Regions from separate parts of the Homo sapiens genome. Here regions 1, 2, 4, 5 and 6 are each linked to region 3. The links are contacts of gene promoters, found by promoter capture Hi-C in blood cells and fetal thymus (Javierre and others, 2016). All regions are on one chromosome and are shown on one strand. The core of a region is centred on a gene start or on the middle of the fragment in contact, and the rest is flanking DNA. Distances in the headings are between cores, read along the strand shown.

Region 1 (3,960 bases), core at 1,082-3,581, 560 kb after region 3:
TACTCGGGAGGCTGAGGCAGGAGATCGCTTGAATCGGGAGGCGGAGGTTGCGGTGAGCCGAAATCGTGCCATTGCACTCTAGCCTGGGCAGCAAGAGTGAAACTCCATCTCAAAAAAAAAAAAAAAGAAAAAGAAAAGAAAAGAAACAGAAGCTGCAAAGGGTTAGGGTTAGGGGTTAGAGGACATGTACACAGGCACCCAGGTAGAAGAGGACAGTCAGTCTGGCTGTCCACAAGACAGAAGAGAGATTGTCAGTCCAGGTTTGTTTGCAACAAACAGCAAGCTTGCAAGCTTGGCATACGTGAAGGCCATGCTGTAGGGATGGGGAAGAGACTCAGGAAGAGGAGAAAGACAGGAAGGCAAGCTGGGCACGGTGGCTCATGCCTGTAGCCCCAGCTACTTGGGAGGCTGAGGCAAGAGAATCGCTTGAACCCAGGAGGTGGAGGTTGCAGTGAGCCGAGATCGTGCCACTGCACTCCAGCCTGGGGACAGAGCGAGACTTGGTCTCAAAAAAAAAAAAAGACAGGAAGGCAGCATAAAGGCTTGCAAAAAACAAAAAATCAAAAACAAATAAACAGAAAGCAGATGAGTCAAAAGTGTCTGCAGCTGAGTCCCTGACAGTTGACACTGAAATGGACGTGAGCCTTTATCTTGACAAAGCATCCTTGGCATTAAAGACTCATAGGAGGGCAGGGCGAAGTGGCTCACGCCTGTAATCCCAGCACTTTGGGAGGCTGAGGTGAACGGATCACCTGAGGTCAGGAGATTGAGACCAGCCTGGCCAACATGGTGAAACTAAGTCTCTACTAAAAACACAAAAATTAGAGTGCGGCCTGTCCTGTCCTTGCCATGAGGCTGCGGCAGGCACCAGAGTCCAGAAAGGTGTTCATTCAGCGAGACTACAGCAGTGGCACAGGCTGCCAGTTCCAGACCATGTTCTCCATGGAGCTGGAGAACCAGATTGATAGGCAGCAGTTTGAAGAAATAGTTCAAACTCTAAATAACCTTTATGCAGAAGCAGAGAAGCTTGGTGGCCAATCATATCTCGAAGGTTGTTTGGCTTGTTTAACAGCATATACCATCTTCCTATGCTTGGAAACTCATTACCAGAAGCTTCTGAAGAAAGTCTCCAAATGCATTCAAGAGCAGAATGAGAAGATCTATGTTCCACAAGGCCTTCTCCTGACAGACTCCATTGAGTAAGGACTGCGAGTTATTGAAATTACCATTTATGAAGGCAGAGGCATGAGCCATGGAAGATAAACCATAGAATTAAAGATCCTACTTCTAGCTGGGCCCCTCATGTATCCATTGGCCGACTGCAGAGTGTCTCTACCTCCTCTCCAGAGTATCATTCCTATCTGCTGCCAGAGCCACACTGCCATTTACTCCAAGGACTTTGTAAAATTCCACACCTGGAAAGACCTTTAGTTGCTCAGTATCCACTTTGTGTCTCCAAATTGTGTAGGACTCTGTAATCTTTTGACTAGTTTCTGAGAAAACACAATGAAGCATTTCACTTTTTTTATTGAAGGCCATTTAATAAAACACAGCTGGTCAGCCCAGTGCAAACCTTATTATCTGCCACCAGTACGTACCATTGGTTCTCCTCATTCCTTGGGCCAGCTTCTCAGGTAGCTTTAGACCTCAACAAGTTGTATCTTTGCCAGTGTTCCATCTTGTTCCCCTAAATTAATAAAATGCTTTTCTCCAGGATTTTGGCAAAGGTTGGTGTGGCTGTGGTTTTGCTAATGCACCTCCTAGATTTCAAAGATTTACCAGTTTTACCATGACTCATATATTAAGATCTGTTTCTACTATTCAGTTCCTCAAACTGAAGCTCATTGAAAAAATAATGTATAATGTTATTTGTTTTATTATAGCAATTATTCCTCATTAAAGCAGTATTTAATGCAATTTCCAGTTATTTCTTTGGAGAATGTTATGTCCTTGTTGCATTACCTTAAAGGTTGTGAAGATGTGATGTGTGTTGCTTGTTCATCACAAAAATCAGTAAGCACAATAAAGTGGATGCCAAACCATCAAACACATAGATGTTCCTGCTGGGTCCCTGGATATGTAATAAGCAGGTATAAAAATATTTTAATTATAGTTTTCTTACAAATATAACTTACGAGAAAAAAATTTGATTGGAATAATACTGTATATTACTAATTTTTAACTATCCCTACCCAAACCTTATGACTCACAGAATTTTCTCATATACAGTATTCAGTGCACAGAAAACTTATGACTGGCTCAAGTACAGTAAGTTACTTCTAAGTAAAACTCTCAAGTCTGAGTCCATATTTGTAGCTCTGCTTTTGGTTGTACGTTTCTAGGATCAGGGCCGCTTATGCCTTTTCGTTCATCCTTGGGGTTTGAGAGCACTGTATGAGGGAGAGAGTTTAAAAATACATTAGGAGACAGAAACCATTAAAAGTTTAACTGTCAGAGATATTGTAGGTGCTAATACTGGATTTCGTCTTTCAGATTTAATTTCTTTTATGGGTCTGTTAATCATTCAATAAATCCCATAAGTATGTGTAATATTTCAATTGTGTAAAACTCGTTTGTCACTTTAAAGCCTGTAACAGTGTGTTTGTGTTTTCAACCCATTGCAATAACTTTGCTGAAATATTAACACATTAATAAAACTTTTCTTAAAAAAAAAATAAAATAAAAATACAAAAATTAGCCGGGCGTTGTGGTGCATGCCTGTAATCCCAGCTACTCGAGAGGCTAAGGCAGGATAATCACTTGAACCCGGGAGGCAGAGGTTGCAGTGAGCCAAGATCACACCACTGCATTCCAGCCCGGGTGATTAAAAAAAAAAAAGGCCGGGCACGGTGGCTCCTGCCTGTAATCCCAGCACTTTGGGAGGCTGAGGTAGGCAGATCACTAGGTCAGGAGATCAAGGCCACCCTGGCTAACATGGTGAAACCCAGTCTCTACTAAAAATACAAAAAATTAGCTGGGCGCCGTGGCGGGCGCCTGTAGTTCCAGCTACTCGGGAGGCTGAGGCAGGAGAATGGCATGAACCCAGAAGGCAGAAGTTGCAGTGAGCCGAGATCGTGCCACTGCACTCCAGCCTGGGCGACAGAGCGAGACTCTGTCTCAAAAAAAAAAAAAAAAAAAAAGGAAGACATGGAAAAAGCCAATAAAACAACATATGAACAAAATGGAAATATCAGTAAAGAGATAGAAAACCTGCAAAAGAAACTAAGAACAAATTTTGCAGCTAAAAAGTATAATAACTAAAATGACAAATTGGCAGAATAAATGATATAGTTTGGATGTCTGTCCCCCCAAACCTCATATTTAAATGTAATCCCGATGTTGGAGGTGGGCCCTGGTGGGAGGTGTTTTGGTCATGGGGCCAGATCCCTTACGAATGGCTTGGTGCTCTCCTTGCAATAGTGAGTGAGTTCTCGTGGGATCTGGTTGTTGAAAAGTGTGTGACACCTCCCTCCTCTCTCTCTTGCTCCTGCTCTTGCTGTGTGATGGGCTGGCTCTCCATTACCTTCCACCATGATGTAAGTAAGCTTCCTGAGGCCTCACCAGAAGCAGATGCCAGCACCATGCTTCCCACAAAGCCTGCAGAACCATGAGCCTATGAAACCTCTTTTCTTGCTGAATTACGCAGTCTTGGTAGTCCTTTATAGCAACACAAAGAATGGCCTAAAACAAAAAAGAATGAGCAAATTTGAAGAAAGGACAATGGAAATTATTGAGTCTGAGGAATAGAAAGAAAAAAGATTGAGGAAAAGTGAACAGAGCCTAAGAGACCTGCGGGAAACCATCATGTGCACCAACCTATGTATTGTGAAAGTTCCAAAGGAGAAGGGGGGTGGGTGCTGAGAGAATATTTAAAGAAATAATAGCTGAAAACTTCCCAAATTTGACAAAAGACATGAATATAAAAAATCCAAGAAGTTCAATGAACTCCAAGTAAGATGA
Region 2 (4,017 bases), core at 112-2,611, 580 kb after region 3:
AAGGAACTCAGGTAAAATAAAATGTAAGTTTCAAGCTTTATGACCGAAAGTGTCAATTTCTTTTTGTTTATTTATTTCTTTTTTCTTTTCTTTTTTTTTCTTTTTTTGGAGACAGAGTTTCGCTCTGTCACCCAGGCTGGAGTGCAGTGGTGTGATCTCAACTCACTGCAGCCTCTGTTTCCCAGGTTCAAGGAATTTTCGTACCTCAGCTTCCTGTGTAGCTGGGATTACAGACTCCTACCCCCACGCCCAGCTAATGTTTGTATTTTTGGTAGACACGGGATGTCACCATGTTGGCCAGGCTGGTCTTGAACTCCTGACCTCAGGTGACCTGCCCGCCCTGGCCTCCCACAGTGCTGGGATTACACGTGTGAGCCACCCACCTGGCCAGGACTTGTTTTCTTAATCCCTGTGCTACAGAAATTATACTAGACTAAAATATAAAGGGTTTTTGTTTTGTTTTGTTTTTGTTTTGTTTTGAGACATAGTGTTGCTCTGTCACCCAGGCTGGAGTGCAGAAGCACAGTCTCGGGTCACTGCAACCTCCACCTCCCAGGTTCAAGTGATTCTCCTGCCTCAGCCTCCCAAGTAGCTGGGATTACAGGAAACCACCACCACACCTGACTATTTTTTGTATTTTTAGCAGAGATGGGGTTTCACCATGTTGGCCAGGTTGGTCTCAAACTCCTGACCTCTGGTGATCTGCTCGCCCTGGGCTCCCAAAGTGCTGGGATTACAGGTGTGAGCCACTGTGTCCGGCCGGGATTTATTAATAAGCACTTTTTTTTTTTTTGAGATGGAGGTTCACTCTTGTTGCCCAAGCTGGAATGCAGTGGCACAATTTCAGCTCACTGCAACCTCCACCTTCTGGGTTCAAGTGATTCTCCTGCCTCAGCCTCCCGAGTAGCTGGGATTATAGGCATAAGCCACCATGCCCTGCTAATTTTCTGTATTTTTAGTAAAACGGGGGTTTCACCATGTTAGCAAGGCTGGTGTCGAACTCCTGACCTCAGGTGATCCGCCCACTTTGGCCTCCCAAAGTGCTGTGATTACAGGCGTGAGCCACTGTAATTTTTTTTTTTTTTTTTTTTTTTTTTGAGATGGAGTCTTGCTCTGTCACCCAGGCTGGAGTGCAGTGGCATGATCTCAGCTCACTGCAGCCTCCACCTCCCAGGTTCAAGTGATTCTTCTGCCTCAGCCTCCTGAGTAGCTGGGATTACAGGCAAGTGCCACCACGCCCAGCTAATTTTTGCATTTTCAGTAGAGACAAGGTTTCACTATGTTGTTCAGGTTTGTCTCAAACTCCTGACCTCAGGTGATCCACCTGGCTCGGCCTCCCAAAATGCTCGGGCACTACGCCTGGCCCCTTTTTTTTTTTTTTTTTTTTTTTTTTGTATTTTAGTAGAGATGGGGTTTCACTGTGTTGCTCAGGCTGGTCTCGAACTCCTGAGCTTAGGCAATCTGCCTGCCTAGGCCTCCCATAGTGGTAGGATTACAGGCGTGAGCCATGGCGCCCGGCCTTTTCTTTTTCTTTTTTTTAAAGAGACAGTATCTCCCTCTGTCACCCAGACTGGAGTGCAGTGTTGCTCACTGTAACCTCAAACCTTAAGGCTCAGGTGGTTCTTCCGCCTCAGCCTACTGAATAGCTGGGACTACAGGCACATGCCACCCTGCCTGGCTAATTTTTTGTAGAGACATGGTCTCACTGTGTTGCACCATCTGGTCTTGAATTCCTGGGCTTAGGCAATCCTCCCACTTTGGCCTTCCAAAGTGCTGGGGTGACAGGCATAGGCATGGCATCTGGCCAATAAGCATTCTTATGCAGTGTTTACTAAGCGCCAAGCACTATCTCAAGCACTTTTCTGGGGACTGTGTATGTTTATGGGAAAAAGCCTACAGCAGAGGCCCCAGGAGACAGGCCTGCCTGGAGGGCTGGGTTGGGAGTGGAGAGCAGGCCCCCTCAGGACCATGGAGCCTCCAGGACACAGTCCTTCCTCCCAAGGAAGTTAAGGCAGAGTTAAGGTTCCTGCTTGGTTGGAAGGTCCAAGGGGCAGTCCTGAGTGGGACACTGTGACTGTCACTCTGATTGTCCCCCTACAAGGCCCCATGGACTCCAGCAGCCAGAGAATGAAGATAATAATAAATTAAAGCATCTCAAGGCATCTGCAGAAATCGTGTCAGGCAGGAGGCCATGCCTCAGGGCGCAGGAATAACAGCAGCCTGGCCTGCCGCAGCAAGATAGCAGCCCCTACTGCAGAGGCTGGTGGCAGCCACCATTGGGGGCACAGACTCTGGGGGTGCTCGTGCATGCGTGTGTGTGTGTGTGTGTGTGTGTGCATATCATACTTTGAGACACCTGGATCTATCTAGGAGGTATCTGAGAGGTACTCAGCCTCCTGCAGAAAAGGTGGGGACGGACCTGGAGAAGCAGCATTTTGTAACCTTGGACCCTGAGTGAGCAGGAGACAGACTGCACAGAACAACAGATATATACGGGAATGTACTGATTTTCTCTTACTGCAGTAACAAACTGCTGCACAAAACCCCACAAATTTATTGTCTTAAAATTTTATAGGTTAGAAGAAGGGTCCCCAAACCTTGAACCACAAACCAGTACTAGTCTGTGGCTTGCTACGAACCATGTCGCACAGCAAGAGGTGAGTGGTAGTCGAGCGAGCAAAGCTTCTTCTGTATTTACAGCAGCTCCCCATTGCTCACACTCCCACATGAGCTTTGCCTCCTGTCAGATCAGTGGCAGCATTAGATTCTCATAGGAGCGTAAACCCTATTGTGAACAGCGCATGCACGGGATCTAGGTTGTGGGCTCTTTATGAGAATCTAATGTCTGATGATCTGTCACTATCTCCCATCACCCCCAGATGGGGCTGTCTAGTTGCAGGAAAACAAGCTCAGGGCTCCCACTGATTCTACATGATGGTGAGTTGTATAATTATTTCATTATCTATTACAATGTAATCATAATAGAAATAAAGTGCACGTTTAATGTAATGTGCTTAAACCATCCTGAAACCTCCCTGCCTCCTAGTCAGTGGAAAAACTGTCTTCCACAAAACAAGTTCCTGGTGCCAAAAAGGTTGGGGACCACTGGATTAGGAGTCGATATGGTTTAGATCTGTGTCCCCACACAAATCTCATGTCGAATTGTAATCTCCAGTGCTGGAGATGGGGCCTGGTGGGAGGTCATTGGATCATGGGGGCGAAGTTCTCATGAATGGTATAGCACCATCCCTTTGGTGCTGTTCTTGCAATAATGAGTGAGTTTTCACGACACCTAGCTGTTTAAAAGTGTGTAGCTTCGGCTGGGCATGGTGGCTGATGCCTGTAATCCCAGCACTTTGGGAGGCCGGGGTGGGCAGATCACCTGAGGCCAGGAGTTGGAGACCAGCCTGGCCAACATGGTAAAACCCTGTCTCTACTAAATATACAAAAATTAGCCGGGTGTGCTTGTGCGTGCCTGTAATCCCAGCTACTCGGGAGGCTGAGACAGGAGAGCCACTTGAACCCAGGAGGTGAAGGTTGCAGTGAGTCAAGATTGCGCCATTGCACTCCAGCCTGGGCTGGAGTGAGACTCGGTCTCAAAAAAATTAAATAAGGCCAGGCGTGGTGGCTTACGTCTGTAATCCCAGCACTTTGGGGGGCTAAGGCAGGCAGATCATGAGGTCAGGAGTTCGAGACTAGCCTGGCCAACATGGTGAAATCCTGTCTCTACCAAAAATTAGCTGGGTGTGGTGGTGCACGCTTGTAATCCCAGTCCATCAGGAGGCTGAGGCAGGAGAATCGCTTGAACCTGGGAGGTGGAGGTTGCAGTGAGCCGAGATCGTGCAACTGCACTCTAGCCTGGGTGACAGAGGGAGACTCCGTCTCAAAGAAAATAGAGAAATAAAATAATAACAAAAAAGTATGTAGCTCCTCCCCTCCTCTCTTGCTCCTGCTCCCCCTTGCCTTCCGCCATGAGTAGAAGATCCCTGAGGCCTCCCCAGAAGCAGATGCTGCCAT
Region 3 (3,818 bases), core at 1,120-3,619:
CAGTACCTTTCCCAGCTTTCAAATCCTTTGTGAAATAAAATAGGGTACAAATACATTAAATAAAGCTGACCCAGGGCCTTGTGCAGCGCCTGGCTCAAATAAAGACCCAAAATTCACCGAATGAATGAAAGAAATAGACAGGTAGTTACACTTCCGTGTGTGTATGCACTGTTACTCTTCTGCACCCACAGGACATGAAAATGCCTTGCGCTTATTCTGTAGGTCCTCTAAAACCATTTTATGTGTATATCAAGGGCTCAGATATCATTTTGGAATAATAATACTTAACATTTCTGGAGCTCTTTAAACCTTTTCTAAAGATACTTCATACCAATCCAAGTGCTTGCTCCATATTAGAGATGAGAGGATTGAAGCAGAGAGGACAAAAGCCATCGGAAACAGTTTTGGAGCTCACATGGGGCAATGTCATCAGTGGGGGGAACTGGTGGTGGGGCCCTGGTCTGCAATCTGTGGTCTTGTGCTCTTTCCCTCAAACCATATCATTTTCCCAATGACAGTGCACAAAAAAATAGCACCACTGTGACTAATGACTTTTTTCCAATTGCAGAGATTACTTCTAGATTTTTGCTCATTTTCCCATGGCATTGTGTGTATGGGGCTTGCAATCCCAGCACAACACTATCTGCTTCCCAAGAGCATCACCTAGCCCAGCCTGTTGAGGGCCTCAATTGTTGAGGGCCTCCATTGTCCTGGGACTCCGCATACCACATGCTCCTGGATCTGGCACTACCTTAGTCCCTGCCTCCTAGAAGCCATCTTCGGTGTCCAGTAATGCTTCACCTTCCCTCCTCTTTATTTTTTATTTGTAGAGATGGAGTCTGTGTTGCCCAAGCTGGTCCCAGACTCCTGGCCTCAAACCATCCTCCTGCCTTGACCTCCCAAAGTGCTGGGATTACAAGTGTAAGCCACCACACCTGGCATCGTTTCCCTTCTCTTGCTTTTTTTGTTTTTGTTTGTTTGTAGGTACGGTCTTACTCTATCACACCCAGGCTGGAGTACAGTGGCACAATTACAGCTCACTGCAGCCTCAACCTCCAGGGCTCAAGCAATCCTCCCAACTCACCTTCCTGAGCACCTGGGACTACAGGCACACACCACCAAGCCTGGCTAATTTTCATTTTTGTAGAGGCAGGGTCTCACTGTTGCCCTGACTAGTCTCTAACTGCTGGGATCAAGCAATCCTCCCACCTCAGCATCCCAAACTGCTGAGATTACAGATGTGAGCCACCATGCCTGGTATCTTCTCCCGTCTCTTGAGTGTCATTTCAGGTGTTGACATGATAGTATCACACACATTAAGTAAGACCCGTGGAAGCCCCTGTGCACCAGAGCACAGCAGCCTGTGAGTGAAAGCCATGGGATGCCAGGTGACCGTGCCTACATCTATGAACTGGCCTGCCCCTTATGTGCAGACAGCTCCTTGCCTTGTTCCTTAGGTAGCTGGAGACTAGGTGTGGGCAACCACTACAGCATCCTGTTGGATTCTCTAGAAGACATCTTTTTCTTTTCTTTTTTTTATTCATCCAACCCAAAATGCCTTTGTTTTTCCAGTCGTAGTAGGGACGGGGCCTCGCTATGTTGCCCAGGCTGGCCTCCAACTCCTGCCCTCAAGCGATCCTCCCTCCCAATGTGTTGGGATTACAGGCTCGAGCTACGGTGCCTGGTCAGACACACCATCAGCTCTCGGGGCTCCAGGGTCCCCCTCCCACGGCCCACCCTCCCTCCTGTCTTCGGTAAAAGTGGGACATGGCGATGGGAGTAAATCACCCCAGTGACTACTGGGCGGAGGGTGTAGGGGGTGGGGAAGCACACCTAGTGGGTGTAATTGACAGGGGTTGAAGGTGGGTGGGTAGGGGTGCAGGTGGGCGGGGGAGTTGCAGGTGGGCGGGGGAGGGGCGCAAGTCCGCGGGCCCCGCCCCCAACCCCGGCCCCGCCCACCCGCCGAGGACCGCTATGCCCCGCGCCCGCTTCTCCCCCGCGCCCCTCCCCACGCCCCGCGGCCCGCCGCCCGCCCGGGTACCTCCTGTGGCAGCAGGGGCAGCGCGTGCCCCGCCTGCGTGGCCGTCGGCGTGGCCGGCTCCAGAAAGTCGTCTTCGGCGTCAGAGCTGGACATGGCACCGTCCTGACGACGGCTGTCTGGCTCCCGCCCCGTGACTACCACCATCCCTCTGGCTCTGGGCAGTGGGCGCGGCTTCGGGCGGGCGGAGGCGGCGGCCCCGGGCACTCCCTACCGCCGAGCAGCGCCTGGCATGACGCGGCCGGCTGCGGGCTGGCCGGAGGGGGGCGAGAGGCAGTGCGCAGGCGGGAGGGCGGTGGCTCCCTCAACGCCGACCCGCTCGCGCCCAGCTGGGGCCTGACCCGACCGCCTCCCGCTACTGGCCGACGCCGCGCTGGTTCCGCCCTGATTGGCAGGAAGCTCGCCCAGTCGAAGAGCAGGCAGCGCCAGCGGCCGGCGCCTGAGTGGTCCCTGGGTTGGGGGGGGGGGGGGGGGGCGGCCTGCGAGCCTGCCGTGCACTGATTGGTCCTCTGGCCAGCGGGCGCGCCCTCTCCGAGAGACCCGGCGGTGGTGCGCCGCTACGCTCTCATAACTGGGCGTCGGAGTCTGCCGTGAAGAGGGTTCTCACCCGCGTCAGGGTAGACGCCTTATCCCTTCACACAGGGGGTCACGACTTACTCGTGTGTCTGGCCCCAGAGCAGCGGGTCCTTGTCTCCTCAATGGAAGGCCTGAGCAGCCTTTCCTGGAGGATGTGGCGGGAGGAGGGCTGAGGTGGCTGCGGACACGCCACCGCGGCTGGCCCCGCCCCGAGCCGCAGGGCACCGCCCGGGTGTCCAGTTCTTCCTCACTCGCTCGCGCAGAAATCCGAACGAGAAAACCCAAAATAGGAGCGCTTGAGTTCAATGAATAATGACAGTGACTCCCCACCGTGACCGTTTTTCCACCGGGACACACAGATGGAGACAGGCCCTTCCCCAAGATGCTCCCGGCTCCCTGGGAGGCGGAGTCCAGCCCTAGAGGCTCTATCAGCGCAGGGAGTCTCCTGGGGGTCAAGGTTCTTAGCCCGTTCAAGCCATTTTCTCCTTTCTTTAAAAGACAAAGTCTCACTCTGTTACCCAGGCTGAAGTGCAGTGGCGCAATCATAGCTCATTGCAACCCCTGGGCTCAAGCAATCCTCCCGCCCCAGCCTCCCGAGTAGCTGGGACCACAGACGCGCACCACCACACTCAGCTGATTTTTTAAAATTTTGGCCGGGCGCAGTGGCTCACGCCTGTAATCCTGGCTCTTTGGTAAGCGATGCGGGTGGATCACCTGAGGTCAGGAAGTTGAGACCAGCCTGGCCAACATGGTGAAACCTCATCTCTACTAAAAATACAAAATTAGCCAGGCATGGTGGCACACCTGCAATCCCAGCTACTAGGGAGGCTGAGGCAGGAGAATCGCTTGAACCCAGGAGATGGAGATTGCAGTGAGGCGAGATCACGGCCACTATACTCCAACCTGGGCAACAAGAGCGAAACTCCGTCTCAAAAAAGAAAAAAAAATTTTTTTTTTTTTTTTTTTTTAAGAAATGGGGTCTTGTCATGTTGCCCAGGCTGGTCTCAAACTCCTTGCCTCAAGCTGTCCTCCCTCGTCAGCCTCCCAAAGTGCTGGGATCGCAGGCGTGTGCAACCATGCTTCTCCTTTTCAAACCGTTTTCACACCCAGTTCCTCATCTCATTCTCACAGTGTAGTGACAGAAAAGAAAACTGAGTCGTAGATTAGACAGCTCCAGGATGGCAAAGATGAGCTGGTGGCATAG
Region 4 (4,006 bases), core at 278-2,777, 890 kb after region 3:
TCTCAAATTCCTGGACTCAAGCAATCCACCTGCCTTGGCCTCCCAAAGTGCTGGGATTACAGGCGCGACTGGCTGTCTCTCTCTCTCTCTCTCTCTCTCTCTCTCTCTCTCTCTCTCTCAAGTGATAGAGTCTTAGGGCCAGGCACAGTGGCTCACGCCTGTAATACCAGCACTTTGGGAGGCCAAGATGGGCAGATGATGAAGTCAGGAGTTCAAGACCAGCCTGACCAGCATGATGAAACCCCGTCTCTACTACAAATACAAAAATTAGCTGGGCTTGGTGGTGTGCACCTGTAATCCCAGCTACTCAGGAGGCTGAGGCAGGAAAATTGCTTGAACCTGGGAGGCTGAGGTTGCAGTAAGCCGAGATCGTGCCACTGCGCTCCAGTCTGGGCCACAGAGTAAGACTCTATCTCAAAAAAAAAAAAAAAGATTCTTGTTATGATGACCAGGCTCGTCTCAAATTCCTAGGCTCAAGCAATCCTCTTGCCTTAGCCTCCCAAAGTGGTTGGATTATAGGCATGAGCTACCGTGCTGGCCAAAATAGAATGTTAGTGACACACCCTACATTGAATTTACTTGGAAGGCTGATTCTTTTCCCATGCCCTCCCTAGGAGAGTGAGCTGGGTGTTAGGACCTTAACTCTGCCCATAAGATGCTCAGGCCAGGAGAGATGCCCTTCACCCCTTGGATTACAAGGGTTTCAACTCCCTTTCTGCTTGTTTGAGCCTTGCCCTCAGTTCTTTTTATCCCTGCTCTGCTGTGCTTGTTTCAAACAACACATTTTTGGACTGTGGCATGAACGGCTCATCTTCAGAGAGTCTGTTTTAGTTGTGTTTCCTAGGATCTGCATCTGCCTCTTCGCGTGTAACTTTGGTAGCCCTTGTGCAGGTCTTGGAGTCTCCAGTGACTTTTTGTCTTCTAGTTTTGCTGAATATGGGATTTCTGCCTCATTCCCCCCCACTATGTCTCCCTATCACTTTGCATAATTTCTAGGAGGAGGAAGGGGAAGATTCGGTCAAATATTGCTGCAGTTCTTATACTATAATCATATTGCTTTGTAATATAAATTTCCCCCACTTTTTCCATTATAAAGATAGCTGTAGGCCAGATGTGGTGGCTCATGTCTATAATCCCAGCGCTTGAACCCGGAAGGTGGAGATTGCAGTGAGTTGAGATTGCACCACTGCACTCCAGCCTGGACGGCGACAGAGCCACGCACTGTCTCAAAAACATAAAAATAAATAAATAAATGAATGTTTCATCTTTTATATAGCTGTATAGACATAGATGTATAACCATATACCATACCTGGATATAGACACACGTAGAGATTTATTTGTTCAAAAATGGGGGCTCACATTATATATATGTTCTGCAACTTCCTTTATTCATGTGACATATCATGGGCATATTTCCATGGTGTGACTTATTTTGAATGCTAATGTTTATATTAAATCACATTTCAAACTGTGTTCTTTTAAGACATTCATGCTATTTTAATGTATTGGTATTATTTGTTTATTTATTTATTTTGAGATGGAATCTTTCTCCGTCACCAGGCTGGAGTGCAGTAGCGCGATCTCGGCTCACTGCAACCTCCACCTCCTGGGTTCAAGCGATTCCCCTGCCTCAGCCTCCCAAGTAGCTGGGACTACAGGTGTGGACCACCATGCCCAGCTACTTTTTTGTATTTTAGTAGAGATGGGGTTTCACCATGTTGGCCAGGATGGTCTCGATCTCCTGACATCGTGATCTGCCTGCCCCGGCCTCCCAAAGTGCTGGGATTACAGGTGTGAACCACCGTGCCCAGGCAGCAATGTATTGCTATTTAACATATTGATATGAAATATTAAATTTGTTAGCAAATATTTTATACACACAGATACAAAAAGCATCTGTACACCTACTATCCTACTTAAAGGAACATTATTACTATAATGCCATTGATTAACTCTACATACCTTTTCTCAATCTCATTTCCTTTCTTACTTTCAGAAGTAACTACTCTCCTGCAGTTTATGTTGTAAGTTATCATTTATGACATTAAATGATATTCTCTTTTTAAAGTTTCCAATGGCTATTGGAGTATCACAGTAATCACAGTAACTGAGAATGTTCACAGTATTGCTGTAAAAATTCTTATATATGTGGCTCCTCCAATCATACAACTTTCTTTTTTTTTTTTTTGAGACAGAGTTTCACTCTTGTTGCCCAGGCTGGAGTGCAATGGCGTGATCCCAGGTCACCGCAACCTCTGCCTCCCGGGTTCAAGCGATTCTCCTGCCTCAGCTTCCCCAGTAGCTGGGATTACAGGCATGCATCAATACGCCTGGCTAATTTTGTATTTTTAGTAGAGACGGGGTTTCTCCATGTTGGTCAGGCTGGTCTTGAACTCCCGGCCTCAGGTGATCCGCCTGCCTCAGCCTCCCAAAGTGCTGGGATTACATGCATGAGCCACTGCGTGCCTGGCCTCTTTTTTTTTTTTTTTTTTTTTTTTTAGACAGAGTCTCACTCTGCCACCCAGGCTGGAGTGCAGTGGCGTGATCTTAGTGCAGCCTTAACCTCCAGGCTCAAGCCATCCTCCCAACTCAGCCAAGTAGCTGGGACTTGAGGTGTGTGCCACCACGTCCCACTAATGTTGTTTATTTTTTGTAGCGATTAGGTCTCAATATGTTGCCCAGGGTGGTCTTGAAATCCTGGGCTCAAGCGATCCTCCCACCTAGGCCTCCCAAAGTGGTGGGATTAGAAGCATGATCCACCACACCCAGCCTACTCATGAAAGTTTCTCCTGAGTGTCTCCCTCAGGTGGAATTGCTGGGTTGTATAAATTGCGTGTGTTTAGTGTTACTAACACCATATTGTTTTCCGGAGTGTTCGTTCCAATTTACTATACTTTAGAAGGCCATTATCAGTGAATAACTTTTTAAAAAGGAGTACATGATTCTAACACAATTAGCCATTAGAAAATTTGTGGCTGGGCACGGTGGCTCACTCCTGTCATCCCAGCACTTTGGGAGACTGAGGTGAGCAGATCACCTGAGGCCAGGGGTTTGAGACCAGCCCGTCCTACCTGGTGAAACCCCCGTCTCTACTAAAAACACAAAAATTAGCTGGGCATGGTGGTGCCTGCCTGTAATCCCAGTTACTTGGGAGATTGAGGCAGGAGAATCACTTGAACCCAGGAGGCAGAGGTTGCAGTCAGCCGAGATCACGCCACTGCACTCCAGCCTGGGCAACACAGAGAGACTCCGTCTAAAAAAAAAAAAAAAAGAAAAAGAAAAATTAAAAGAAAATTTGTTAGCTTAAAAAATGTGATCTGTAGAAAACCTTTCAGAGCCGGGTAAGGCGGATCACACTTGGGCTTGAGCCCAGGAGTTGGAGACCAGTCTTGGCAACATAATGAGACCCAGGCTCTACTAAACATAAAAAACCAGCCTGGCATGGTGGCACACACCTGTGGTCCCAGCTACTTAGATGGCTGAGGCAGGAAGATTGCTTGAGCCCAGCAGTTCGAAGCTTCAGGAACAGTAGTATGACGTGCATTACTTTTGACTAACCAATTGTGATTAAAAACTTTGCAAAATAAATTGCTAATATTTTTATTATGGCTTCATTTTGCTGTATTGTATTTGGTTCACATGTGCTATTATTCCAGTAAGAACAGCAATTAAACTTTTTTTGTTTTTTTTTTTAGAGAATCTGGCTCTGTCACCCAGGCTGGAGTGCAGTGGCGCAATCTCGGTTCACTGCAACCTCTGCCTCCTGGGTTCAAGTGATTCTCCTGCCTCAGCCTCCTGAGTAGCTGGGATTACAGGCGCCCGCCACCAGGCTCGGCTACTTTTTGTATTTTTAGTAGAGACAGGGTTTTGCCATGTTGGCCAGGCTGGCCTCGAACTCCTGACCTCAGGTGATCCTCCCACCTCGGACTCCCAAAGTTCTGGGATTACAGGCGTGAGCCACTCCGCCCAGCCTAATGAAGCATATTTTAATCTGTTTCATAGTT
Region 5 (3,638 bases), core at 137-2,636, 600 kb after region 3:
TTCTTTCCTCTCTAAAGGCTCAGTCTCAAGTGGTTGCAGCTTAGAACAGGAAGGAAATGGTTGAATGGTTTTTGGCCAAGCCTTTGGCTTTTAGGAGCCTCCTTGTCCAGTTTGGACTTTGCTAGGCGTTTGGGTGTTTTATCCATTGGGGAAACATTGCATTCATTGATCTCATGCCACTATTTCTGAAAGGAACAGCAGATGAGAGGGGTCGCATTGTATTTAGTGATGGTGTGTGAGCCTGCATTTTCTTCACTTCTGTGGTAGAATCTCTAAAACAGGAATGAGACTGAGATTCCCCCCTGCCTCCAGCACTCTAATGCATGCATGTTTTATCCTTGTGGGGAAAGTTTGCTTCTAAAAATCCATAGCATTTTTTCCTCCCCTTTTTTTGGTAAACTCTGTCTTATCACTTGCTTCAAAATTTTTCTTTTCCAGAAAGAAATTATTATGTTAGATTTTTTTTTTTTTTTTTTTTTTGAGATTGAGTCTCACTCTGTCGCCCAGGCTGGAGTGCAGTGGCATGATCTCGCCTCACTGCAAGCTCCACCTCCCGGGCTCATGCCATTCTTCTGCCTCAGCCTCCCGGGTAGCTGGGACTACAGGCGCCCGCCACCACGCCCGGCTAATTTTTTTTGTATTTTTAGTAGAGATGGGGTTTCACCGTGTTAGCCAGGATGGTGTCGATCTCCTGACCTCGTGATCCGCCTGCCTTGGCCTCCCAAAGTGCTGGGATTAAAGGTGTGCACCACTGCACCTGGCCTATGTTAGATTTTTATACTAGAGAAGCAGAATTCTTTTTTAACAAAATATTTGTTTTAAGAAAATTTGCTTTCAAATAGTATATTTTTGAGATCAGAGGAGATTAGTGATGTGTATATTCATAGGAAATGTTTGAAATTGTTTTTTTTTTTTTGAGATGGAGTCTTGCTCTGTTGCCCAGGCTGGAGTGCAGTGGCGTGATCTCAGCAACCTGCAACCTCTGCCTCCCAGGTTCACGCCATTCTCTTGCCTCAGCCTCAAGAGTAGCTGGGACTACAGGTGCCTGCCACCACGCCTGGCTAATTTTTTGTATTTTTAGTAGAGATGAGGTTTCACCATTTTAGCCAGGATGGTCTTGATCTCCTGACCTCATGATCCGCCCGCCTCAGCCTCCCAAAGTGCTGGGATTACAGGCATGAGGCACCGCACCTGGCCATATTTGAAATATTTTAGGTAAATTAATGAATTTGGATTATTTGGCTTATATAAAAGAGCATTTTTTTAATGTCATATGCCTCTGGGACTCATATTTGCTCAAATCCAAGAATTGGAAGCTGCGTAATGGGCGGGTGAAAGGAAGTACTACAGTTTCCTGTTTATCCTTCAAAACCACTGACCTTAGATAGATATATTTCTCAAATTTATTCATAAACTTCTTTTGTGTATCTTCTCCTGGGTGTTTCATTTACTAACTGATCTGAAAGAGCAGCGTAAAGAAAGTGGAAAGAATAAACACAGCTCTGGGCAACAGAACTTGAACACTATCACCTATGAAGTAAGGCTGGGCTTCTGCCAGGCCTACCTAAAGTACCATTGAGGGAGGGGGGTTTATTCTCCCAACGACTGGCTGCTGAAATCAAGATCGCCTTTTATCTGATTTGAATACTTTTACTGTAACCTGATTTTTATTCTGTTTATAAAAGTGGGAGGAGTTTGGTCAAGTGTAGTGTTTAGCCAGCTACAAAGTTAGAAGGAATAGTCTAAAAGATTGCTCTCACTTCTCCTTGAAAGGGAATCACTGCTCACTGCAGCCTCAACCTCCCAGGCTCAAGTGGTGCTCCGAGCTCAGCTTCCCAAGTAGCTGGGAATATGGGTATGCACTGCCATGCCTGGCTAATTTTTTTGTTGTTGTCCAGGGTGGTCTTGAATCCCTGGGCTCAAGGGATCTTCTCACCGCATCTTTCCAAAGTGCTGGGGACTTAGACACTTAAGGCTATTGTTTATTTTTCAAGTTTCAGATTCTTCCCAAAATATGTAATTATAATTCCTCTCAAATTATATCTGTATTCTTCTTCAAAAGCCACAAATTCTGTGTAATCATGAGAAAATATCAGACCATTGCAAATCAATTTTAAAAAAACACCTTTTATTTTGAAATCATTTTTCTTTTTTTTTTTTGGAGATGGAGTCTCCCTCTTGTTGCCCAGGCTGGAGTGCAATAGCACGATCTTGGCTCACCACAACCTCCGCCTACCAGGTTTAAGTGATTGTCCCGCCTCAGACTCCTGAGTAGCTGGGATTACAGGCATGCGCCACCTCGCCTGACTAATTTTGTATTTTTAGTAGAGATGGGGTTTCTCCATGTTAGTCAGGCTGGTATCGAACTCCCAACCTCAGGTGATCCGCCGATCTTGGGCTCCCAAAGTGCTCGAATTATAGGTGTGAGCCACTGCGCCCAGCCATTTTTCTCTTACATAAAAGTTGTAGAGACAGGTGCTGGGAGTTCTTGTGTACCCTTCCCATAGTTTTCTCCGATGTTAACATCTTACATAACCATGGTCTATACCATGAAAAACCAAGAAATTAACATTGGTACATACTATTAAACTAAGCTAAAATTTTATTTGAATACCTTGTTTTCCCACTGCTGTTTTCTGAGTTCCAGGATTCAGTTCAGGATACCATTTTTTTTTTTTTTTTTTTTTTTTTTTTTTTGAGAGGGAGTCTCTCTCGCTCTGTCGCCCAGGCTGGAGTGCAGTGTCATGATCTCGGCTCACTGCAAGCTCCGCCTCCCAGGTTCACGCCATTCTCCTGCCTCAGCCTCCCGATAGTAGCTGGGACTACAGGCGCCCGCCACCACACCTGGCTAATTTTTTGTATTTTTAGTAGAGACGGGGTTTCACCGTGTTAGCCAGGATGGCCTCAATCTCCTGACCTTGTGATCCACCTGCCTCGGCCTCCCAAAGTGCTGGGATTACAGGTGTGAGCCACCGCACCTGGCTCAGGATACCATTTTATATTTAGTTAACATGTTCCCATAATGTCATTTGTTCTGTGTCCTTACTCTTCCTTTGTCTTCCTTGACACTTGTGAAGGGCTGGTCAAGTATTTTGTAGAACGTCCCTTGATTTGTGATTGTCTGACGTTTTCTTATGATTACACAGAACCTGTGGCTTTTGAGGAAGAGTACCACAGAGGTGATCTCCCCTTCTCGTGTCCTGATATCTCAGGGTACATGATATCGATGTTTCTTTCTTTTTTTTTTTTTTTTTTGAGATGGAGTCTCTCTCTGTTTCCCAGGCTGGAGTGCAGTGGCACAGTTTTGGCTCACTGCAACCTTCACCTCCTGGATTCATTCCATTCTCCTGCCTCAGCCTCCCGAGTGGCTGGGACTACAGGTGCCGGCCACCATGCCCGGCTAATTTTTTGTATTTTTTTAGTAGAGACGGGGTTTCACCGTGTTAGCCAGGATGGTCTCAATCTCCTGACCTCGTGATCCGCCCGCCTCGGCATCCCAAAGTGGTGGGATTACAGGTGTGAGCCACCGTGCCCGGCCAATGTCGGTGTTTCTTATGGCTACTATTGTTAACTTTGGTCATTTGGTTAAGATAGTATCTGCCTGGATTGTCCACTGTAAAGCTACTGTTTCTTCATTT
Region 6 (4,005 bases), core at 860-3,359, 520 kb after region 3:
TCTCCTCCACCTACTTTCAGGGCGGACAGACTCAGGCCTTTATAGCCTTCTAAGTCCGGGGTCGGATACCAGACTGGGCTCCACCCCCGCACTGTGACCCAGAAACGCTGGTAAACGAATGAGAGAAGGAGGGGGCACATTGAAAGGCAGCCGGACACGGAAGTGCTCGGCCCCGCACCAGACACGGCGTGGAGGGGAAGCGAAGGTTCGGAAGGGCAAAGCGAGAGTCCCGTTCGTCCCCGTCACCACCCCGCGGCCCTCCCGGACAGGGCCGGCCCGCTGCCCTCACTCCCGTACGAGGGTCGCCCAGTCCCCACGGCTCTCGGCTCTCAGCTCTCAGCGGTCAAACCGTTGGGCTCCTCGGGCGAAAAGGGACGCGCCCGAGAAGACTTACACTTCCATGACGTCCCGCCTCGTCGCCCCTAGCTGCCAGCAGACAAAGAACCTCACACTTCACAGCTGTCTCCGCCGCCACCAACAGCGCCAAGGTGCCAGCTCCGCGCGCCAAGGTGCTCGCCGGGATCGCCGCGCTGCATGCCGGGAGCTTGGCGGACCCGGAACCTCGCGCTGCGCGTTCCCCTTTTTCGGGGGGCAGGGTGGGGGAGTGTCCCTGCATCCTTCCACCAGGCCGATTTAAGACTGCTAAGCGTTTGCGGACAGGATTATCTTGTGTTTTCTTTTCTTTTTTTCTTTAACCTTTTTTTTTTTTTGAGACGGAGTCTCGCTCTGTCGCCCAGGCTGGATCTCGGCTTACTGCAACCTCCGCCTCCTGGGTTCAAGCGATTCTCCTTCTGCCTCAGCCTCCCAAGTAGCTGGGACTACAGGCGCTTGCCACCAAGCCCGGCTAATTTTTTGTGTTTTTAGTAGAGACGGGGTTTCACCGTGTTAGCCAGGATGGTTTCAATCTCCTGACCTCGTGATCCGCCCGCCTCGGCCTCCCAAAGTCCTGGGATTACAGGCGTGAGGCACCGTGCCCAGCCTCTTTTTTTCTTTTTTGAGACAGAGTCTCGCTCTGTCACCCAGGCTGGAGTGCAGTGGCACGATCTCGGCTCACTGCAATCTCTGCCTCCCAGGTTCAAGCAATTCCCTGCCTCAGCCTCCCGAGTAGCTGGGATTACAGGCGCCCGCCATAACGCCTAGCTAATTTGTGTATTTTTTAGTAGAGACGGGGTTTCATCATCTTGGCCAGGCTAGTCTTGAACTCCTGACCTCGTGATCCACCCGCTTCGGCCTCCCAAAGTGTTGGGATTACAGGCGTGAGCCACCTCGCCGGGCTCTGTCTGTTTTCGTGGTCTAGGTTTTAACAAAGTATTAATCAGCTGAAGTTGTGAGACGTGATCGGGTTAGTGGGCCTTTGCATGTTAAAATCCCACCTCTCAGAGAGTAGTGAGGCTGGTGGCATCTGGGCTGCCAGAAACATTGCAGTTTATTTATTTATTTTTTAAGAGACAGGGTCTTGCTCTGTCGCCCAGGCTGGAATGCAGTGGTGCAATCAGAGCTCACTGCAGCCTTGAACTCCTGGGCTCAAGCAATCCTCCCACCCCAGCCTGCCAGAGTAGCTGGGACCACAGGTGCGCTCCGCTACACCTGGCTAATTTTCTTTTTTTCTTTTTCTTTTTCTTTTTTTTTTTTTTTGAGATCAGTCTCACTCTGTTGCCCAGGCTGGAGTGCAGTGTCGTGATCTCGGCTCATTGCAACCTCTGCCTCCTGGATTCAAGCAGTTCCCTGCCTCAGCCTCCCCAGTAGCTAGGATTACAGGTGCCCGCCATAATGCCCAGCTAATTTTTGTATTTTTTTAGTAGAGACGGGGTTTCACCATCTTGGCCAAGCTGGTCTTGAACTCCTGACCTTGTGATCCACCCTCATCAGCCTCCCAAAGTGTTGGGATTACAGGCGTGAGCCACTGCACCCAGCCACCTGGCTAATTTTCTAAAATAAAATTCTTTATTGTCCAAAGAGTCAGCTACAAAATTTTTTAATTTTTTTGTAGAGATGGGGGTCTCACTGTGTTGCCCAGGCTGGTCTTGAACTCCTCGCCTCAAGTGATCCTCCCACCTCCAACTCCCAAAGTGCTGGGATTACAGGTGTGAACCACCACAATAGCCTCTGTTGCCTACTTTGTAAATAATAAGGGTGTTAAATAATCCTTATAAAGTTCCTGGCACTTTATTAATTACTGTGGCAATACAACCATGACTCTCTATGAGGTACATTGCATTATTATTGACATTTTATAATTGAAGAAACTGAGGCAGACTTGGAGAGATTATGATTTACCAAAAGTCACTCATCTAGGAAGTTGTCCAGTGGGTATTGAACCCCAGCCAATCTGAACATATACAACAGATGCATTAACTAGAGACTGATGAGTGGATGAATAAAATGTGCTACATTTGTGCAATGGAAAACTACTTAAAAAGGAGGCTGGCCGGGCACGGTGGCTCACGCCTGTAATCCCAGCACTTTGGGAGGCCGAGGCGGGCAGATCACGATGTCAGGAGATCGAGACCATCCTGGCTAACAGGGTGAAACCCCGTCTCTACTAAAAATACAAAAAAAATTAGCCGGGCGTGGTGGTGGGCGCCTGTAGTCCCAGCTACTAGGGAGGCTGAGGCAGGAGAATGGCGTGAACCCAGAAGGCAGAGCTTGCAGTGAGCCAAGATCGTGCCACTGCACTCCAGCCTGGAAGACAGGGCAAGACTCTGTCTCAAAAATATAAAAATAAAAAGGAGGCCAGGCTTGATCTCAGCACTTTGGGGAGCAGAGGCAGGAGGATTTCTTGAGACAAGGAGTTCCAGAGCAGCCTGGGCAACATAGCTAGACCCCCTAACTACGAAAAGTTAGCCAGGTGTGGTGGTGAGCACCTCTAGTCCCAGCTACTGGGGAGGCTGAGGTAGGAGAATCGCTTGAGCCAGAAGGTAGAGGCTGCAGGGAACTATGATCACACCACTGCACTCCAGCCTACAGAGTGAGAGACCTTGTTGCAAAAAATATATATAGACAGACTGATAGATAAATGCTGCAAGATGGATAACCTCCCAAAACATGATGCTATTAATAAGTGAAAGAAGCCAGACACAAAATAATATATATTGCCTGGCCAGGTGGCTCACGCCTGTAATCCCAGCACTTTGGGTGGCTGAGGTGGGTGGATCATCTGAGATCAGGAGTTCAAGACCAGCCTGGCTAACATGGGGAAACCCTGTCTCTACCGAAAATACAAAAATCGCCAGGCGTGGTGGCTCACGCCTGTAATCCCAGCACTTTAGGAGACTGAGGCAGGCAGATCATGAGGTCAGTAGTTCGAGACCAGCCTAGCCAACATGGTGAAACCCCGTCTCTACTAAAAATACAAAAAGTAGCTGGGTGTGGTGGGGGGCACCTGTAATCCCAGCTACTCGGGAGACTGAGGCAGGAAAATTGCTTGAACCCAGGAGGCGGAGGTTGCAGTGAGCCGAGATCACGCCACTGCACTCCAGCCTGGGTGACAGAATGAGACTCCTTCTAGAAAAAAAAAAAAAAGAATACATATGGTATGATTCACTTTATATAGAATGTCCAAGAAGAGGCCAATCTATGGATACAGACAGAAGGCTAGGTTGGGGGCAAGGATGGGAAGTGATTGCTAATAAGTAGGGAGTTTCTCTTTGGGAAACAGAAATTGTCTAAAATTATTATAGATGGTGGTGGTGGTTGCACAACCCTGTGAATATACTGAAGACACTGAGTTGTATACTTTAAATGGCATATTGTACAGCATATTAATCCTATATTAATAAAGCTGTTAAACATTTTTTACTCTGCTGAGTGTGGTGGTCCACACCTGTAATCCCAGCACTTTGGAAGATGAAGGCAGGTGGATCGCTTGAGCCCAGTTTGAGACCAGCATGGGCAACATGGTGAAACCTCATCTTTACCAAAAAAATAGAAATTAACCAGCTTGATGGCTCGTGCCTGTAATCGTAGCTACTCAGGAGGCTGAGGCAGGAGCATCGTCTGAATCTG

What was found. Contacts are between HindIII fragments. The CHiCAGO score rates a contact against its expected background, and 5 or more counts as called.
Region 1: a contact is called between a fragment that was not itself captured here and the fragment with the promoter of KCTD7 in region 3, in 4 of 17 cell types (neutrophils, endothelial precursors, M1 macrophages and 1 more). The highest score is 7.3, in neutrophils.
Region 2: a fragment that was not itself captured here is called in contact with the fragment with the promoter of KCTD7 in region 3 in 2 of 17 cell types (endothelial precursors and M1 macrophages); the score reaches 6.0 in endothelial precursors.
Region 4: a fragment that was not itself captured here is called in contact with the fragment with the promoter of KCTD7 in region 3 in 1 of 17 cell types (total CD4 T cells); the score reaches 6.2 in total CD4 T cells.
Region 5: a fragment that was not itself captured here is called in contact with the fragment with the promoter of KCTD7 in region 3 in 10 of 17 cell types (M0 macrophages, endothelial precursors, M2 macrophages and 7 more); the score reaches 17.7 in M0 macrophages.
Region 6: a fragment that was not itself captured here is called in contact with the fragment with the promoter of KCTD7 in region 3 in 1 of 17 cell types (neutrophils); the score reaches 6.1 in neutrophils.

The regions. Positions count from the first base shown.
Region 1 is chr7:66,068,208-66,072,167 of GRCh38, reverse strand. It overlaps the pseudogene LOC644667. Among named protein-coding and RNA genes, the nearest start is that of ASL, 5.6 kb to the left of the region's middle. The HindIII fragment of the contact is 2,432 bases long and covers 1,116-3,547 here.
Region 2 is chr7:66,048,946-66,052,962 of GRCh38, reverse strand. No RefSeq gene overlaps it. Among named protein-coding and RNA genes, the nearest start is that of ASL, 25 kb to the left of the region's middle. RefSeq lists a silencer at 964-1,142. The HindIII fragment of the contact is 2,647 bases long and covers 38-2,684 here.
Region 3 is chr7:66,627,432-66,631,249 of GRCh38, reverse strand. It overlaps KCTD7 (potassium channel tetramerization domain containing 7), which reads right to left and starts at 2,369. Exons shown (of 4, transcript NM_153033.5): 1 at 2,042-2,369. The coding sequence starts at 2,185. RefSeq lists silencers at 2,009-2,578, 3,589-3,788. The HindIII fragment of the contact is 8,113 bases long and covers 1-3,818 here.
Region 4 is chr7:65,735,345-65,739,350 of GRCh38, reverse strand. All of the region lies in intron 2 of LINC03006 (long intergenic non-protein coding RNA 3006), which reads left to right. Among named protein-coding and RNA genes, the nearest start is that of SNORA22, 18 kb to the left of the region's middle. The HindIII fragment of the contact is 3,989 bases long and covers 1-3,521 here.
Region 5 is chr7:66,026,458-66,030,095 of GRCh38, reverse strand. All of the region lies in intron 3 of LOC105375336 (a long non-coding RNA gene), which reads left to right. It also overlaps the pseudogene LOC100419772. Among named protein-coding and RNA genes, the nearest start is that of GUSB, 46 kb to the right of the region's middle. The HindIII fragment of the contact is 4,637 bases long and covers 1-3,638 here.
Region 6 is chr7:66,111,360-66,115,364 of GRCh38, reverse strand. It overlaps CRCP (CGRP receptor component), which reads right to left and starts at 518. Exons shown (of 6, transcript NM_014478.5): 1 at 395-518. The coding sequence starts at 402. RefSeq lists silencers at 1-23, 1,452-1,642 and enhancers at 1-138, 676-805. The HindIII fragment of the contact is 6,002 bases long and covers 1-4,005 here.